Regions from separate parts of the Homo sapiens genome. Here region 2 is linked to region 1. The links are contacts of gene promoters, found by promoter capture Hi-C in human tissues and cell types (Jung and others, 2019). All regions are on one chromosome and are shown on one strand. The core of a region is centred on a gene start or on the middle of the fragment in contact, and the rest is flanking DNA. Distances in the headings are between cores, read along the strand shown.

What was found. The method cuts DNA at HindIII sites, captures the fragments that hold promoters and counts their contacts. A contact is called where the count stands out against the background at its distance.
Region 2: a fragment that was not itself captured here is called in contact with the fragment with the promoter of HIPK4 in region 1 in 1 of the 25 tissues and cell types used here (spleen).

What each region holds. Positions count from the first base shown.
Region 1 is chr19:40,387,847-40,394,667 of GRCh38, forward strand. It overlaps HIPK4 (homeodomain interacting protein kinase 4), which reads right to left and starts at 2,335. Exons shown (of 4, transcript NM_144685.5): 1 at 1,592-2,335. The coding sequence starts at 2,056. It overlaps PRX (periaxin), which reads right to left. Exons shown (of 7, transcript NM_181882.3): 7 at 5,922-6,821. The coding sequence ends at 6,120. RefSeq lists enhancers at 1,688-2,237, 2,238-2,787. The HindIII fragment of the contact is 19,093 bases long and covers 1-6,821 here.
Region 2 is chr19:40,539,408-40,546,228 of GRCh38, forward strand. All of the region lies in intron 20 of SPTBN4 (spectrin beta, non-erythrocytic 4), which reads left to right. Among named protein-coding and RNA genes, the nearest start is that of SHKBP1, 34 kb to the right of the region's middle. The HindIII fragment of the contact is 8,028 bases long and covers 1-6,446 here.

The sequences.
Region 1 (6,821 bases), core at 1,085-3,584:
GTGTTGAGACAGAGTCGAGCTCTGTCGCCCAGGCTGGAGTGCAGTGGCGTGATCTCAGCTCACTGCAAAACCTCTGCCTCCCAAGTTCAAGTGAGTCTCCTGCCTCTGCCCCCCAACTAACTGGGATTCCAGGTATGTGCCACCACGCCTAGCTAATTTTAGTTTAGTTTTTTTTTTTTTTTTTCTGAGACAGAGGGACTTCCTCTGTCGCCCAGGCTGGAGTGCAGTGGCGTAATCTCAGCTCACTGCAACCTCTGCCTCCCGGGTTCTAAGCGATTTATCTGCTTCAGCCTCTGGAGTAGCTAGGATTACAGGTGCCCGCCACCACACCCGGCTAATTTTTATACTTTTAGCAGAGACGAGGTTTCACCATATTGGTCAGGCTGGTCTTGAACTCCTGACCTCAGGTGATCCACCCGCCTCGGCCTCCCAAAGTGCTGGGATTACAGGCGTGAGCCACCGCACCTGGCCATCCCTCACCTTTCACTTGCAGAAAGCAGTATCATGAAATGGTTATTAATTGCTATTCTGATCCCAGAGTGCCAGGGCTTCAGTACCCAAGAGGCTGAGTGACCCTGGGCACTTAGTCTATGTTTGTGGAATGAATTCATTCCTTCCACAGAGACAGTGGGGGTGATAATGCCGGCCAGGTGCTGTGGATCCGTCCTGTCTGTCCCCTGCTGTGTTTGTGGAAGTCCCTGCTTCCCTGGGTCTCTGTCCTTCCACCTCTTGGGGCAGAATAATCCACCTTTTTCTGTCTCTGTGTCTCTGGCAAGCATTCATTTAGCACTGGCTCCATGACTGCAGTGCTGGGAGATGTCAGGGACACAGCGATGATTAAGTCAGCCCCAGCCTTGCCCTCAGGGTGCCCCTGGTTCAGAAGCATCCAGACAGTATCAAACTCAAAAGCAGACAGAGGACTGGGCATGGTGGCTCACACTTGTAATTCCAGCACTTTGTTGAGGCCAAGGTGGGCAGATTGCTTGAACTCAGGACTTTGAGACCAGCCTGGGCAACATGATGAAATCCTGTTTCTACCAAAAAACACAAAAATTGGCTGGGCGTGGTGGCTCACGCCTGTAATCCCAGCACTTTGGGAGGCTGAGGCAGGTGGATCACAAGGTCAGGAGTTTGAGACCAGCCTGGCCAACATGGCGAAACTCCATCTCTACTAAAAATACAAAAATTAGCCGGGCATGGGTGGCGGGCACCTGTATTCCCAGCTACTCAGGAGGCTGAGGCAGGAGAATCGCTTGAACCCGGGAGGCGGAGGCAGTGAACCAAGATCATGCCATCATCACCCCGTCTCTGATAAGTACAAAAAAAAAATTAGCTGGGCGTGGTGGCGCATCCCTGTAATCCCAGCAACTCGGGAGGCTGAGGCAGGATAATCACTTGAACCCAGGAGGCGGAGTTGCAGTGAGCTGAGATTGTGCCACTGCACTCAAGCCTGGGTAACAGAATGAAACTCCGTCTCAAAAATAATAATAATAATAATTTTAAAAAATTAAAAAAAAAATCTAGGGCTGGAAGAAGCTGGGAAAAAGACAAGGAACTAGGGACGCAGCCACCCTAGACGACCCCTACTCACCTTGACCCTGAAGGGGCAGCGGGTCTGGTCCACCAGCATGATGTTCTCAGGCTTGAGATCAGCGTGGATGATAGCCAGCTCCTTGAGCCGGGCCAGGGCTGTGAGCACCTGCAGGGTGACTGTACGGATGTGGCGGGCGGGGAGGGGCGCGAAGTTGTTCTCCTTCTGGAACTCGAAAAGGTTTTGCTCCAGCAGCTCAAAGACCAGGTAGAACTTGAGGGCGTCATGGAAGAACTCAAGGAAGCGGATGACGTGGGCCTCTTCAGGGTCTAGGCCTCGCATGCAGTGCAGCAGCTTCAGCTCGTTCTTGATGATGCGGTTGCGGTAGGCGTCATTCTTGAGGATCTTGATGGCCACCATCTCGCCCGTGCTCCGCCGCCAGCCCTTGGCTACCTCCCCGAAGGTCCCCTTGCCCAAGACCTCGATGATGTCGTAGCAGTCAGTCTCCGACTGGATGGTGGACATGGTGCCGCTGCTGCCAGACACCGCCCTGCCCAGGCCCCTGTACCACTGGCTCTGCCGCCCAGGCCTCCCGCCTGGCTGCTGACACAGCAGGCCCCCCAGTGGGGGAAAGAGAACCGCACTCGTGTCTCCTCCTATGAGGTTGGCCCCTGCTTCCCTGGCACCCCCAAACCCCCAGGCCACACTGTCAGTCTGCCAGGGGCTGCACCCCTCCCCAGAAACCCTCCTGGCTTGGGATGAGGGGCCCCAGGCCCCACCGAATGGGTTCCAGCGCTGTTGAGTGGCTCTGGTTCTGTTGTTGGAGACCTGAGCCCTGGCTGGAGTGGGGGTGGGGTACCAGGCTGGGCCCCCTCCCCCGCCCAGTGGCGGAATCTTGCAAAGACCAAACAGGTGAAGTGTTGACAGAGGGGGGTCTAATCGTGGGCCTTGGGCATACAGGAATGGGGATAAGGCAGGAGTGAGGAAAGGTGGGCTTCTTGAGCTTGGGAGATGTGATGTGTGTGTGTCTGTGTTCAGAAAACTCCTGTCCCAGTCTGTGGCTACTGTGGGGTGAGGTTGTAAAAGGCCCTGAATGCCAGGCTAAGGAGTTTGGATTCTGTTCTGAGGGCACTGGGGAGCCACAGAAGGGCTTTGAGCAGGGGAGGGCAGGGTCAGATATGAGTGTCAGAAAGTTACTGTATGAAAAGGGATAGGTTGGAGCGGGTAAGAGTGGAAGCCCCAAGCCAGGGAAAGAGTCCAGGACAGGGCACAGATGGGAGAGGTTGGGGAGGAGAGGGCGAGGCCAATGGATGAGACACTCAAAAGGCCAGGAGAAGCAGCCGTGAGACCGACGGTTTGAGGGAAAGGCGGGAGCTGTCTAAGAACGGGCCTAGGGCTCTGGGATGAAGGGGCAGTCCCCGAGAAATGGACATGGATAAGAAGCAGCTTGGGGGAGATGTTGAGGCCAAATTAGAAAATGTATTTATTTTTGGCTGGGTGCGGTGGGTCACGCCTGTAATCCCAGCACTTTGGGAGGCCAAGGAAGGCAGATCATAAGGTCAGGAGATCGAGACCATCCTGGCTAACACGGTGAAACTCTGTCTCTACTAAAAATACTAAAAATTAGCCAGGCATAGTGGAGGGCGCCTGTAGTCCCAGCTACTCGGGAGGCTAAGGCAGAAGAATAGCTTGAACCCGGGAGGTGGAGGTTGCAGTGAGCCGAGATTGCACCACTGCACTCCAGCCTGGGTGACAGAGCGAGACTCCATCTCAAAAAAAAAAAAAAAGTGTTCATTTTTATTTATCTTTTTAATTTTTTGTAGAAATGGGGTCTCACTATGTTGTCCAGGCTGGTCTCAAGTGATCCTCCTGGCCTCAAGTGATCCTCCTGCCTCAACCTTCCAAAGTGCTGGGATTGTAGACATGAGCCACCACTCCAGCCAGATTAGAATATTTAACAGCGGGCCGGGCTCGGTGGCTCATGCCTGTAATCCCAGCACTTTGGGAGGCTGAGGCAGGTGGATCACCTGAGGTCGGGAGTTCGAGACCAGCCTGACCAACATGGAGAAACCCCGTCTCTACTAAAAATACAAAATTAGCCGGGTGTGTTAGCACATGCCTGTAGTCCCAGCTACTCAAGAGGCTGAGGTCGGCAGGCTGAGGTATGAGAACTGCTTGAACGCGGGAGGTGGGGTTGCAGTGAGCCAAGATTGCGCCATTGCACTCCAGCCTGGGCAACAAGAGTGAAACTCCGTCTCAAAAAAAAAAAAAAAAGTAAAAGAAAATGTAACATCAAAACATTTAAACAAGGATGAAGTTCTTTAGAAGTCTTATCTGATCCTTACAACATACAAAGTAGGGATTTTATGGAAGAGAAAATCAAGGCACAAAGAAGTTTTTAAAGTGCCTGGCCAGGAGTGGTGGCTTACGCCTGTAATCCCAGCACTTTGAGAGGCCAAGGTGGGCGGATCACCTGAGGTCAGGAGTTTGAGACCAGCCTTGCCAACATGACAAAACCTCAACTCCACTAAAAATACAAAAATTAGCTGGGCATGGTGGTATACACCTGTAGTTCCAGCTACTTGGGAGGCTGAGATCGGGAGGCTGAGGTATGAGAATCGCTTGAACCTGGAAGGCGGAGGTTGCTGTGAGCCAAGATTGCACCACTGCACTCCAGCATGGGCAACAGAGTGAGACTCTGTCTCAAAAAATAAAAATAAATAAATAAATGATAAAATAAAATGCCTAAGGTCACTCAAGTGACTGCCAGAGACAGCCTCTGACCCTAAGCAGCCTGGCTCCAGCGCCAAACTCTGAACCACCACCCACACAACCTCCTAAAAACCAGGAGACCTCTGGAGAAGGGGTGCAGAAGCTGCTGGGTCCCCAAGGGGATGCAGGAGAGAGTTTGGGAGTTGTCAGCACAGAGAGGAGGCGTGGAAGCCATGGGGGAGGGTGATGCACCCTAGGGAGGGTGTGGGGGTGGACAAGGGCCCGGGAGGAACCTCCGGTGCCCAAGGAGCACGGGGAGAGAGAGGTGTGGGGAAGAGGAGCAAGTGTCAGGAAGATCGAAGGGGCCTTGAAGAGTCAGGACAAGAGAGACAAAGGAAACCCTCAGGCGTGGCCACGGGGAGGTCACTGCTGACACAGACAAGGTAGGAGGAAAACCCCAAATGCTGGGGTCTTGGAAATGGGGGTGCACTGTGAGTGTAGATAACTCCTGCCATGTTTGGTGGGGGCAAAGAAAAAGTGTGTGGTGAGACAGTGACCTGAGGAGGGCTGGCTGGAAGGGACAAGGTACTCAAGTGAGTGGGGGATTCTGCCAGGCCCCTCATCCACTGAGACAGGATAGGGAGATGTGAGGAGAGTGGGGGGCTGTCGGGGCGAGACTTGGGACTGGATATTGAGTCTCCTTAGTCCAGTGTGGGACATCACAGAGAGACATGGAGGAGGCTGGAGGCCCTGCTGGGAGCCTCAGGACTTAGATCCTGAATTGGGATGGCAGGGATGGATGGCCCATGGCCCCTGGGAGCTGAGACCAGCACTGACAGGTGCTGAGGACCCTGGGACCTAGTTCCAAGAGGCGGCTGTGTTTCTGGGGTAGAGGCTTTGAGGGGACCAGGAGCAGCCTTCCTGGGTGGGGCCAGAGTGGACAGGGCAGTCAAACCAGCCAGACAGGAAAGAGAAGGCCAGGATGTGCAGAAGTGCCCTCACCGGCAGAGGGCAGGTGGGGAGCAACCAGCCTGGTAGGAGTGGGTCCCCCAGGACAGGCAGGCTTCCTGGCAGAGGGGTCCCGAAGCTGTGCTCTGCCAGGGAACATCCCAGAGTCCTCTTTAACAACCCCTGGGAATTCTCAAGGGCTAGGGACGTCTCCCTTCCCACCACGGCCTGTCCCAAGGCCATCCTGAGTCTTTGTTTTTGTTTTTGTTGAAACAGTCTGGCTCTGTTGCCTAGGCTGGAGTGCAGGGGCACCATCAAGGCTCACTGCAGCCTCGACCTCCCGGGCTCAAGTGATCCTCCCACCTCAGCCCCCCGAGTAGCTGGGATTACAGGCACGGGCCACCATGCCTGGATATTTTTTGTATTTTTTGTAGGGATGAGGTTTCCCTATGTTTCCCAGGCTGGTCTTAAACTCCTGGGCTCAAGCAGTCCTCCTGCTTTGGCCTCCCAAGTGCTGGGCTTACAGGCATGAGCCACTGCGCCCAACCCGCCCTGACTCTTCTCAGACCAGGTATGACCGGTTTCTCCCCTCACACCAGAGGTTCCCCTCAGGCCAGGCTCAGGCGACCCCTAGAACCTCCTCTTTGGAGACTGCCTTCTCTGCATCTCCCCTATACCCACTCCTGCCCCTCCCTGCCCCCTATGCACACAGAGGAGACAAATACATGGCTACTTCCAGATTATTTTATTCACATGGCTTGGTGGGGTACAGGCACTCCTGCCAGAGAGACAGGAGCAGGCCTCCCTGCCAGCCCTGGTCAGTCACCCACCTCCCGGCCCTCTTAGGGTTAGTGCTAGTTATCACACACACAACAGCGAGGGGGTAGAGAAAGGAAGGCAAGAAGGGATCCCCATCTGACTAGGGGCTTCAGACAGCCGCAGCCTGAGCCCCCTCCATCCTGGCCGGGCCTGGAGCCCCTGTCTCTGAAAACCCCACGCTGGGCAGCCGCACCCGCAATCCACCCTCTTCCTGGTCCCCACTCCCACTCCGGGCCTTGGGGCTTAGGGACACCCTGGGGAAGCGGAACTTGGGTGACTTCTCTCTGACGGGGGACTTGGGGGCTGCATCGCCCTCCTGCCCCCGAGAGGCTTTAGAAGGGGCCGCCAGGCCTACACGTGGCAAGCGGACCCGGACCCGGCCCCGGCGACCCGAGGCCCCTTCCCCACTGCCCTCTTCCTCCTCCTCCTCCTCCTCCTCGGGGCTGGGGGACCCTTCCCCAGTGACCATCTCACTTTGGCTGAAGCCCACTCGGGGCAGCCTGAGTTTGGGGCTCTTGGCCTTCTCACCCTCCTCGGCCCCCTCCTTGGCCCGCACCAGGCCAAACCGGGGCAGCCGTACCTTGAGCTTGTGTCCGGCCTCTCCCTCCCCCTCTGCCACCTGGTACTCGGCATGGTTGCCCCCGGATGGCGAGAGCTCCACGTCGGGCAGTGAGAGGCAGAAGGTACGCTCGGCCCCTGGGGGCTGCTCCTCAGCACCCTCGCCCCCCACCCTAGCTCTGGCCCCCAGTGTGGGCAACTTCAGCCTCAGCCCACCCTCGCCTGTGGCCGCCTCGCCCGCCTGTGCCTCTCG
Region 2 (6,821 bases), core at 1,183-3,682, 150 kb after region 1:
GGTCAAGCCCTGGCTCTGTGCCTTATCACCTGGATAGCCCAAGGAGGTTACTTTTCTCTCCATGCTTCAGTTTCTTTTTCTTTTTTTAAGAGGGAGTCTCACTCTGTTGCCCAGGCTGGAGTGCAGTGGCAGGACCTCGGCTCACTGCAACCTCCGCCTCCTGGCTTCAAGTGATTCTCCTGCCTCAGCGTCCTCCTGAGTAGCTGGGATTACAGGCACCTGCCACCACGCCTGGCTAATTTTTGTATTTTTAGTAGAGACGGGGTTTCACCATGTTGGCCAGGCTGGTCTCAAACTCCTGACCTCAAGTGATCCACCCACCTCCGCCTCCCAAAGTGCTGGGATTACAGGCATGAGCCACCGCGCCTGGCTGTGCCTCATTTTCTTCTTCAGTAAAATGGGCATAATGATATTTCTGACCTCATAAGGACATTGTGAAGGTGAAAAGACATAATGCATTAAGTGGTTTCAGAACTGCTGACCCAACAAATCTAAGATTCAGTATTTATTCACAGGTCTTTAATTTTTTTTTTTTTAGACCAAGTTTTGTTCTTGTCACCCAGGCTGGAGCGCAGTGGCACAATCTCGGCTCACTGCAACCCTCTGCCTCCTGGGTTCAAGTGATTCTCCTGCCTCAGCCTCCCGAGTAGCTGGGACTATAGGCACCCGCCACCATACCCGGCTAATTTTTGTATTTTTAGTAGAGATGGGGTTTCGCCATGTTGTCCAGGCTGGTCCCAAACTCCTGACCTCAAGTGATCCGCCCGCCTCGGCCTCCCAAAGTGCTGGGATAATAGGCATGAACCACCGTGCCTGGCCAGTCTTTAATTTTAACTGTCATAAAACTGAGAGCATATCACCATCACTCTACTGTTTTCAAAAGCTAGTTGTTTCACCTTCCCTTTGGTTGTTACTTATGTGATACACGGTTACTTCATTTGTTTTTGTTCATATTCCATTTGGGGCATTTACCCCTCTCCATGCTGCTTTTTAATTTTAATTTATTTTTATTTTTTGATAGATGGGGTCTCACTATGTTACCCAGGCTGGTCACAAACTCCTGGGCTCAAACAGTCCTCCTGCCTTAGCCCCTCAAAGTGCTGGGATTATTCGCGTGAGCCACTGCACCTGGCCCCAAAACACATTTTAAAAAAGCAACATGGATGATTGGGCACAGTGGCTCATGCCTGTAATCCCAGCACTTTGTGAGGCCAAGGCAGGAGGATCGCTTGAGCCCAGGTGTTCCAGACCAGCCTGGGCAACATAGCGAGATTCACATGCCTGTGTTCCCAGCTACTCAGAAGGCTGAAGTGGGAGGATCACTTGAGCCCAGGAGGTTGAAGCTGCAGTGAGCTGTGATCGTGTCACTGCACTCCAATCTGGTCGACAGAGTGAGACCCCCATCTCAAAAAAAAAAAAAAAAAAAAAAAAAAGAAAAGTAATTTGGAGGTGGTAAATGAAATATTTATATAGTGTTAAAAGTTAGAACCATCTTTAGCTCACTTGCTTTTGCCAAATTGCCTGCCCAGGTCCTTCTGTGGCTGCTCACTCTCTCCCCAGCAGTACACATGAGCTCCTGTTTCCTCTCGTCCTTGCCAACACTTGGTTTTGTCAGACATTTTAGATCTTTCTCAGTCCGATGGCTGGGAAGTGGTATCTCACTGCAGTGTGTGTATTTGTATTTTTTTCCAATGCTACTGGCGAGCTTGACCATCTTTGACCTTCTTTTGTACTATTTAGGTTTTAGAGGAAGGAGTTGGGGCCTCCTGCTTTAGCCAGAGTACAGAGTTAGCTCTTCCCTCCCTGTAGGGGGTTCAGTCTCAACCAAGCCCAGCAAACCATGAGATGGGGGTCCCCATTGTTCAAGGGAGGGGCTGAAGCCCAGAGGAGACAAGGGAGTGGCCCTGGGGTCACACAGTGATGGGTGCCAGAGGCAGGCTCCAGCACGAGACTCCTGGGCCCTTTTCCCAGCAGAGGGAGCCCGAGGCAGGAAGTGACTGTGTGGGCCAGGGCACCCAGACGGAGCCCAGCTGCCCCTCAGGAGCTGCTACTGGGGAAGGGACCTGCCAAGGCCCTGCTGTCCCCTGGGGCATACACAGGAGAGGGGTTGGCTGCCATCCAGCCTGGCACGTTTCCTGGCTGTCCCATCCACCCTTAGGGCACTGGGGCCAGGCTGGGCTGAGGGAGGTACTGGCTCGGGGTCTGAGGGGTGTAGTGGTGTGCAGTGTGTGAGCGATCTGTCCCCCTCAGCCTCTCTCCTGTCCTCCCGTCGCCATCTCTGTGTCTCTCTCTTCCCTTTGTGTCCCTCTCTGTCCTACTCTCTCACTCCCTTCTCTCTGTCTCTTTATTTATTTTGAGACAGAATCTTACTCTGTCACCCAGGCTGGAGTGCAGTGGCGCGATCTTGGCTCACTGCAATCTCCGCCTCCCAGGTTCAAGCGATTCCCCAGCCTCCCCAGTAGCTGGGATTACAGGCACCCGCCACCATGCCTGGCTAATTTTTGTATTTTTTTATTTTTATTTTTTCTTTTTGAGACGGAATCTCACTCTGTCACCCAGGCTGGAGTGCAATGGCACAGTCTCAGCTCGCTGCAACCTCCGCCTCCCGGATTCCAGCGATTCTCCTGCCTCAGCCTCCCAAGTAGTTGTGATTACAGGCGTGAGCCACCACGCCCGGCTAATTTTTGTATTTTTAGTAGAGATGGGGTTTCACCATGTTGGCCAGGTTGGTCTTGAACTCCTGACCTCAGGTGATCTGCCTACCTTGGCCTCCCAAAGTTCTGGGATTACAGGCATGAGCCACCACCCCAGTCTCTCTGTCTCTTTTTATTTGACTTCTCTGTCTCTGCCTCCTTCCCGTGTTCCTCATGTCCTCCTTGTGTCCTCTCCCTCATCCCGTACCACACCCGCTGCTGCAGCAGGCTCTCTGGGACCCCACCTCCCAGGTCCTGGCCACGTGACCCAGAATCCTCTCTCGGGGCCTGTTGCCAAGCTGTGCTTCCTGGCCAAGAAGCCAGATGGTGGAGTCTCAAGTCCTGGCTCCCCAGCCCTCAGGGACCTGGCCAGCTGGTCGGCCTCAGCCACAGGCTCCTGCTTGGAGAGATGGGGGACTGGTCTCCTGCCAGATGAGAAAATGCACTAGAGGCTTTGCAGCTGCCAGGCTCTGTCCCTGGGGACCCCACACTTTTTCCAGGCCCACCCCCACCCTAAGCAAAGCTCTTTCTCTGGCCAAGGAAACACCCTCCTCCCCCCTGTTCTGCTTCTCTGTCCCATGTTTTTGTATCCAGCTCAGCATGGCCTAGGAGAGGAGTGCACATTCAGGGACTATACAGTCCCAGTCCTTGCCTTATTGGGACTCAAGGCAAGGGACCCCATCCTTTCTTTCTTTCCTTTTTTTTTTGTTTTTGTTTTTTTGTTTTTTGAGACAGAGTCTCACTCTGTTGCCCAGGCTGGAGTGCAGTGGCGCGATCTCAGCTAATTATGTCTTCATAATTCACAAATTATGTCTTCAATTTATGAAGGTGCTGGCTCGGGGTCTGAGGGGTGGAGTGATCAGTAACTCAAATTACGTCTTCACAAATCTCCTTGTCTTCATTTCTGAGCACCGCTTTCTTCTGTGTTGGCCTCATGGTCAGGGAGTCCCTGATGTTGGCAGGATGACCCCAGGATGCCCGGCCTACCTCCTCCCAACTTAGGAAGCCCATGGGAAAGAGAGCATCTCTTCTGTGCACACACATTTTCCTGGCGAAAATGGGGAGAGTGGCCGGGCACAGTGGCTCACACCTGTAATCCCACACTTTAGGAGGCCAAGATGGGAGGATTGCTTGAGGCCAGGAGTTGGAGACCCGCCTGGCCAACACAGCGAGACCCCACCTCTACCAAAAAAGAAAAAGTGGGAAGAGTTTTCATTGGCCCATCTAAGGTTACGTGCTCATATCTGACCCAATCTTTATGACCAGGGTGTTTTCAGTGTTCTGCTTGGCCCCACTTGGGTCATGTGATTACCCATGACTCTCTAGGTTTCATTTGCCCTTCAGGAAGCTCAGGACCTGAGAGTGAGTTTTGATGTATTTGGAAGGAGAGGATGGATTTTGGGCAGGCAAAACCAACAACTCTGCACTACAGAACTTTGAATCAAGAAGTCTTGGCTTGGTTCTTGAGTTTGGGGTTTTGTTTTGCAGTCATTTGTGGTAATCTGCTACCACTTAATTTTTTAATTGTTATTTTGTTTTCTTCTCTAGCTTTCCTCCATCTGTTTAGAATTACAAGGGTAATATATGAATATATTCTTTTGGGAAAAAATTTTACTAACCGAGCAGTCTTCAGTAAAACATAAAGTCTCACTCCTATCTGCCTCCCAATCCCACATCCCAAAGAGAGCCTCAGTTATTTGGTGTGCATCCATCTAGACCTCTTTCTGTGCATTTACAAGTGTACCTATATGGATGTTTAATGTTTTTATATTATTTGCTTTTCATGTTTAATTTCAATTTTTGAATAAATAAATTTTCATGGTGAAGACATCAAAACCTCTAGGGAAATCCCATGGGAAAATTATCGCCTTCATCCCTGTTCCCCATTCATTAAGTTCTCATCCCCTCCCCCAGTAAGTACCATCTGTTATGAACTTCTTGTTTACTCCAGGGAATTTTTATGCATGTGCAATCCACTATAAATTTATATTCATAGGTAGGTTCTAAATTGCTTCTTCTTCTTCCTCTTTTTTTTTTTTTTTTTTGTTTGTTTGTTGTTGAGACTGAGTTTCGCTCTTTTTGCCAAAGCCGGAGCGCAATGGCGCGATCTCAGCTCACTGCAACCTCCGCCTCCCGGGTTCAAGCAATTCTCCTGCCTCAGCCTCCCAAGTAGCTGGGATAACAGGCGCCTGCCACAATGCCCGGCTAATTTTTTGTATTTTTAGTAGAGACTGGGTTTCACCATGTTGGCCAGCATGGTGTCTATCTCTTGACCTCGTGATCCGCCCGCCTCAGCCTTCCAAAGTGCTGGGATTACAGGCATGAGCCATTGTGCCCGGCTTTTTTTTTTTTTTTTTTTTTTTTGAGATGGAGTTTTGCTTTTGTTGCCCGGGCTGGAGTGCAGTGGCATGATCTCGGCTCACTGCAACCTCTGCCTCCCGGGTTCAAGTGATTCTCCTGCCTCAGGCTCCCGAGTAGCTGGGATTACAGGTGTCTGCCATCACGCCTGGCTAATTTTTTGTGTTTTTAGTAGAGATGGGGTTTCACCATGTTGGCCAGGCAGGTCTCAAACTCCTGACTTCAGGTGATCCACGCGCCTTGGCCTCCCAGAGTGCTAGGATTACAGGCGTGAGCCACCGCACCCAGCATGCTTTTTCTTCTTAACAGTAACACTTGGCTATTTTTCCATACTGGTCTGGATTTGTTTAACCATTTTACTCTTTTTTATTTTTTATTTTTTTTTAAGAGAGGGGGTCTAGCTGTGTTGCCCAGGCTGGTCTCAAACTCCTGGGCTCAAGCATTTCTCCCACCTCAACCTCCTAAGTAGCTGGGATTACAGGCATGAGCTGCTGCACCTGACTTAACCATTTCTCTCTTGATGGGCATTGAGGTTGCTTCCAGTTTTTTCCCATTATAAACTCTGCTGTGATACTACAACTTTGTGCATCTGTGCCAGTATTTCTTTTTTTTCTTAAAAAAATTTTTATTATTATTATTTAAAAATTTTTTTTTCAGGATGGAGTCTTGCTGTGTCACCCAGGCTGAATTGCAGCGACGTGATCTCGGCTCACTGCAACCTCCACCTCCCAAGTTCAAGCAATTCTCCTGCCTCAGCCTCCCAAGTAGCTGGGATTACAGGCGTGCATCACCACGCCTAGCTAATTTTTGTATTTTTAGTAGAGACAGGGTTTCACCATGTTGGCCAGGCTGGTCTCAAACTCCTGACCTTGTGATCTGCCTGCCTTGGCCTCCCAAAGTGCTGGGATTACAGGCGTGAGCCACTGCACTTGGCCTATGACAGTATTTCTTTAGTTATATTACTAGAAATGCAAGTGCTGGGTCAAGCAGATGCATATTTTGCATTTTGATGCAAAGACCTGCCAAATTGCCTTCTAAAAAGGCTCTACCAATTTATGCCACCACTGACAGTGGCTGAGTGTGCCCATCTCCCAACATCTTTGCCAGCATTAGATACTATAAGTCTTTTACATTTTTGCCAACCTAATGTGTAGAAAAGAATGCCTTGGCCAGGCGCAGTGGCTCACTCCTGTAATCCCAGCACTTTGGGAGGCCGAGGTGGGTGGATCACCTGTAGTCAAGAGTTCAAGACTAGCCTGGCCAACATGGTGAAACCCCATCTCTATTAAAAATTCAGAATTGGCCAGGCGTGGTGGCTCACGCCTGTAATCCCAGCACTTTGGAAGGCCAAGGCAGGCAGATCACAAGGTCAGGAGATCGAGACCATCCTGGCTAACATGGTGAAACCCCATCTCTACTAAAAATACAAAAAAAATTAGTCAGGCGTGGTGGTGGGCACCTGTAGTCCCAGCTACTTGGGAGGCTGAGGCAGGAGAATGCCGTGAACCCAGGAGGCAGAGCTTGGAGCTTGCAGTGAGCCAAGATAGCACCATTGCACTCCAGCCTGGGCGAAAGAGCGAGACTCTGCCTCAAAAAAAAAAAAAAAAAAAATCAAAATTAACCGGGCGTGGTGATGTGTGCCTGTGATCCCAGCTACTCGGGAGGCGGAGGCAGGAGAATCACTTGAACTGAGGAGGCAGAGGTTGCAGTGAGCCGAGATCATGCCATTGCACTCCAGCCTGGGCAAAAAGAGCGAAACTCCATCTCAAA